Linked DNA regions of Homo sapiens: region 2 is linked to region 1. The links are contacts of gene promoters, found by promoter capture Hi-C in human tissues and cell types (Jung and others, 2019). All regions are on one chromosome and are shown on one strand. The core of a region is centred on a gene start or on the middle of the fragment in contact, and the rest is flanking DNA. Distances in the headings are between cores, read along the strand shown.

The links. Contacts are between HindIII fragments. The study calls those that stand out against the background at their distance.
Region 2: a contact is called between the fragment with the promoter of MAPK9 here and the fragment with the promoter of ZNF879 in region 1, in 1 of the 25 tissues and cell types used here (aorta).

The regions. Positions count from the first base shown.
Region 1 is chr5:179,022,381-179,025,080 of GRCh38, reverse strand. It overlaps ZNF879 (zinc finger protein 879), which reads right to left and starts at 1,277. Exons shown (of 5, transcript NM_001136116.3): 1 at 1,177-1,277; 2 at 44-111. The coding sequence starts at 76. RefSeq lists an enhancer at 1,148-1,649. The HindIII fragment of the contact is 17,237 bases long and covers 1-2,700 here.
Region 2 is chr5:180,290,831-180,293,530 of GRCh38, reverse strand. It overlaps MAPK9 (mitogen-activated protein kinase 9), which reads left to right and starts at 1,448. Exons shown (of 12, transcript NM_002752.5): 1 at 1,448-1,683. It overlaps LOC124901151 (a long non-coding RNA gene), which reads right to left and starts at 1,299. Exons shown (of 2, transcript XR_007059085.1): 1 at 1,231-1,299. RefSeq lists an enhancer at 328-970 and silencers at 893-1,232, 1,243-1,612, 1,743-1,932. The HindIII fragment of the contact is 17,371 bases long and covers 1-2,700 here.

The sequences.
Region 1 (2,700 bases), core at 28-2,527:
TAGACCCTGAAGGCAGTTCAAGCAAAAAGAAGCCTTCACTCACCTGTACATGGGCTGGCAGCAACCTCCTTGCCATTTCTCCCTCCCTGCTGCCTCTCTTGGAGAAGGCACCTGGAATGGAGAAAAAAGCTGTGAGGTCTTTTCATCCAGCCTGCATGCCCACCCTCATTAGGCCAGACCAGGTTAGAAGCCATAAGCTGAGCACCTGCAGAGAAGGAGCCTGGAACTGCCCAGGCCAGAGGGGCCCTAAGTCCGGCCACTTAAACCAGTGTGGGAAGCAGGTTCAGAGTCACCGGGCCTGCTACCTTTCTGCCAGTGCTTTACGATAAAGACGAAAGGAGCGAAGGGATGAAGACCATCTGCCGTGCCTTAACAGGGTCAAGGGCAGAATCAGGCAAGGCTCATTCAGATAAAGTAATAGGAAATGACACAATATTCCACACATCTGCACTTGGATGTTGTTCAATACGAAAAACAGCAGTTGAAGAACTGATGCTCTTTTTTAGGAACAGCCAACCAAAAATTAGTCCTCTTTTCTTCCTCTTGTAAGATTTACTTCCTTTATCAAAAACAGTTATCAAAGCTGCTTAAAGGTAGCGTTACCCATTCTCCCTGGCCCCAAAAAAACAAGGGCGCAAGAAAACAGCATCACTAGCTAGAAATTGATTTAAAATTTAGAGAAATGGGAAGAAACGTAGCAAGTGGACATGGTTACGGTAAATAAAAAAAGAAATAGTTAAATCACTCTAGGACTGGCTGTAGGAAAACACTGCCAAACGTGCAAGACTGCCAAAAACGAGTAAATCTAAAGTTTAAACTCCGGGAAACGGAGTAGGGGGAGGCTTAAACCCACAAACACTAAGAGCGAAAAACCGCCCGGAGGGCTCCGGACCCTGAACCGAGGCGGCATTTTGCAGTTTCTGTTCTGGAGCCGTTTCCCCCGGAGTCCGGCCCAGGCTGCGGCCCAGGAGTCCAGCGGCGTCGAAGCGCCCTCCCGGCCTCCGCCAGGCCCTTCCCAGGCCACGCCCCCTCCGGGGCCGGGTTCACCTGCCGAGGCCGCCCCGGCTCGGACGCCCGGAGCCGGGGACTCGGCAGACACGCGCAGAGGCCAGCCCTCGTCCTGGTCCCGCCGCGGCAGCCGCACGCCCCGGGCCCGCCCTCACCGGCAGCCTGTACCTGGGCCCGCCTCGGCGGGGGGCGCGCAGCTCCACACCGCACAAGAGGCGAGCGGAACACCTAATTCAGAGACGTTTCCCGTCGCTGCCGGGCGCAACTGCGCCTGCGCGCCGGAGAGCCGACGGGTTTCCCTGGCTGAACCGCAGCGTTTGTCCCTCCGGACTTCATTTCCCAGACGTCGCTGCGGCACCACCACTTACGGTGTCCGAGAGAGAACCACAGCGCCGAGAGCGGAGAACGCGGTCGGGCTGTGGAGTTCGAGAAGGCTGAAGCCGAGTCCCTCAGCTTGGGCTCCAACTACTCTCCCTCCGCTAAACCACCCATTGTATTCGTAATTAGAATGACAAAAATAGTAAGACGGAAAAGTGAGTATGAATTTTTAAATCTGGAAGACTAGCCGCTGCTGATTATTCGCAGGTGGTGACAGAACTATTACAGTCCATTCTGCGATTTTAATTAAAAATGAATTATGTCTAAATTTTATAATCTCGGCCGGGCGCGGTGGCTTATGCCTGTAATCGCAGCACTTTGGGAGGCCGAGGTGGGCGGATCACAAGGTCAGGAGACCGAGACCATCTTGGCCAACATGGTGCAACCCTGTCTCTACGAAAACACGAAAAATTAGTCGGGCGTGGTGGCACATGCCTGTAATCCCAGCTATTCGGGAGGCTGAGGCAGGAGAATCGCTTGAACCTGGGAGGCGAAGGTTGCGGTGAGCTCAGATCGCGCCATTGCACTCCAGCCTGGGTGACAGAGCAAGACTCTGTCTCAAATAAATAAATAAATAAATAAATAAATTTTTGTAATCTTTACATATTTACTGGCACTCAGAGTAAAACAAAAGCATAAGCCTAGTATTTCCCTCTTCATGGCACTCACTTCTTTTGAAGTGACTTCTTTAAAACGTAAAATAAAGCCCAACTCCCAGCGCTATCATCACAACTGCATCCTCGGTGACCGGCACTGTACACGCCAAATACTATGTGCTCAGAAAGTGTTGATTTTTAAAATATCAAACATTAGCGTTTACAGAGACAAACCTAAACACAAAGGGTACTTGAAGATAGAAAATGCAGAGAGGGACTAAGAGATATCAGGTAGATAATATGAAAAAGAAATCTTGGATCACGATGTTACAACAATACAAAGATTATTGCAATGTAAAAATAATTAAATCGAACAAAATGGATGTTTTATATTGTTAAAAGATAATAATGCACATCACTAATCATTAGGGGAATGCAGATCAAAGCAGATCAAACATCCACTGCGATTTCACACTCATTAGGTTGGCTATTATAAAATTTGGAAAAAAAAGAAAACCAGAAAACAATCCTTGTGCCTTAATGGTGGGAATGTAAAATGGTAGCGCTGCGCTGGAAAACGGTATGGCAGTTCCTCAAAAAAAAATTAAATGTAGAATTAACACATGGGCAATTCCATTTCTGGACCATATGTTATTTCTATATTTAATTATTATTTTAAAATAATAATAATAAAGATATGACAGTTATAGACCATTAT
Region 2 (2,700 bases), core at 199-2,698, 1.3 Mb before region 1:
ACCCAGCCCCTTACCCTCCCCATCTGCAGAGTCCTGTTCCTTCTCCCCACTCTGGCCCTGGCCACTCTGTGGATCCTGGTATTGTGTTACTGCTGTTCTACACCACACTCACCATTTGTCAACCATTGTTCCCACTCTTCTAGTCCCCAAAGGCCGGCTCTCCACGGTTTTCCCCATGTGCCCAGCCTCAGTGCCTCTCTTCCTGCTTCACTTTTCAACGTAGATCTGGCAACATCCCAAGCCCCGGCCTCTCCCATCCTGTACGACCCCCAGGCCGCTGGTACCTGATCCAGCCTCAAAAGCAGCTCAGAGTCAACGGGTCCCAGTCCCTAGGGGGCTCTGAGCAAGAGACTCCTCGCCCCGCCCCCCACTCCTCTCAGAGGCTTGACTGAGCACCTCCCTTTTTTTTTTTTTTTTTTTTTTTTTTTTTTTTTTTTTTTTTGAGAGAGTCTCACTCTGTCACCCAGGCTGGAGTGCAATGGCGCAATCCCGGCTCACTGCAACCTCCGCCTCCCAGGTTTAAGTGATTCTCCTGCCTCAGCCTCCCGAGTAGCTGGGATTACAGGCGCCCGCCACCACGCCCAGCTCATTGCTTCGTATTTTTAATAGAGACGGGGTTTCACCAGGTTAGCCAGGCTGGTCTCGAACTCCTCACCTCAGGTAGTCCACCCGCCACGACCTCCCAAAGTTCTAGGATTACAGGCGTGAGCCACCGCGCCCTGCCGCACCTCCTAATTTTTAGATGTTGTCAACTAAGTGATCCCGCCACCAAGCGCAGTCTCCTCCTGCGTCACCGACCCACCGGGTCACCTGTCTACACACCGCCATCTCTTCGCACCCCCTCCCCCTCTTCGACCCGGCTTCTGGCCTCACCCACACCCCCATAGACCCGTTCCTCCGGCGCCGCAGCGAGCAACCGAGTGCGAGGCCCGCCCCGCCTACCGGGCCCTAGCACGCCGGGCTCCCGGACGCCAGGCCGGCCTCCCCCCGCGATCGCCCCGGGCTCTCCCCGAAACGGGCGGGCTCCCGTGCCGCTCCAGTCGCCTCACCGCCACAAGCCTGCACCTGCAGCCCGAGGCCCGGCTCCCCGCGGACCCCGCGGTGTGAGCCCCGCGCGCCTCCAGCCCGGTTCCCGGTCCTCCGGGCCACCCTCTCCACCGAGCTGCGCCCCCCTCGCAGGGAGAGCGGGCTCAGCCGGTGGGCCGCGCAATGCCTGCGTCTCCAGCTCACCGCGTGCACTGCGCGCACCCGAGCGCCATGGCCACTCGGCCCGCGCCACTGAAAGGCCCGGGGGCGAAGAACCCGCGGAACCCCGGCCCAGGACCTCGGGCGCCCGACCCGGCCCCCGACCCCGCCCGCGCCACCCTCCATCGGCCCGCCCCCCAGGCGCCATTGGCCGCGCCTGCTCCGCTCTCCGCGCGCTGATTGGTCGGCGCGAGGGTCTGTCAGACCGGGCGCCGCGGCGGCGGCAGCGGCGGAGAAGGGAGCGGGACCGGAAGGGTCGCAGCGCCCCGGCGCCCCTCACACCCACTGCGGCGGCGGCGGCGGCGGCGGCGGCGGGGCGGAGCGGAGCGGGGCGGGCCGGCGGCGGAGCCGGGGCCGCGGAGCCAGGAGTGACTAGCACGCAGCGCCGCCAGTCCGCCCGCCCGCCCTCTCCCCGTGGCGCGGCGGCGGGGAGGCGAGGTGAGCCCGGCGGGCGGGCTAGGCCTGGCGGCGGCTGCTCGGGCCGGGCCCGCGGGGAGGGGCGGTGAGGGAACCGCGCGGCCGGGGGCTTCGGGGCGGGCCGGGGGCTGCGGGGCCCTGGCAGCCGCAGCCGTCGCCCCTGTGCTGGGGGATGCCGCAGGCGCCCCCTTCCGCCCGGCTGTCAGCAGCCCCGGGCTGCGGGCCTGCTCACCGGCCTGGCCCGGCCGACCTGCCCGTGGGGTCTGCGGGCGCCATCCCTCCCGGAGGTGGGGCAGACAGCTGCACTCCTGCGCCGGGTGCCCAGGGGCCCGGGGTCGCGTCCCCGCGACCTTGGCCAAGGCACTGACCCTCGCTCTGCCGCGGTTTTGCCTTCGGGAAGGTGGGGAAATGTCTCTTCTGGACAGGGTTGTTGTCAGGCTGTGTGAATGTATGCAGACGCCTGGGCAGGACCCCGGTGTGCATCTGTGGAAGACTGGGCAGGGTGCTGGCCCGTGCTGGTGTGAGTGGTGTAGGAACCCCCTCCCCACCCGCCCAGCCTCCCGCCTCCCCGCGCACTCCTCTCTTGCCTTGTCATTGCACACTCGGTGTCCAGCAGTGCCAGAGGGGACCCAGCCCGAATCCCTTACCACCGCGCCCCTCCCCCAGAAGACTGCTGCCCCGTCCCACTCATCTCGCCCGCCTTGAACATGCCAGCCCGCATTTGCCCCAGGACCTTTGCATTTGCTGTTTCCCCGTCTTTGGAGTTGTCTCCGTGATCTTGGCACAAGTAGCTCTTTCTGCTCCTTCCTCTGGTCAGATGTCTCGTTTTGGGTGAGGCCCTCCTCGACCACCCTCTTTCTTCCCTTAGTCATGCTATTTCATTATTTAAAAAATTTCCTTCCTAGCTCTCATCTGGTTTGAAACTATTCTATTTATTTGCCTGCTTATTTTCTGTCTCCCCGACTAGGATGTAACTTTGTGAAAACAGGTAGCTGTCTGATTTGTCCACTGCTTTATCCCCAGTGCTTAGAAAGCACA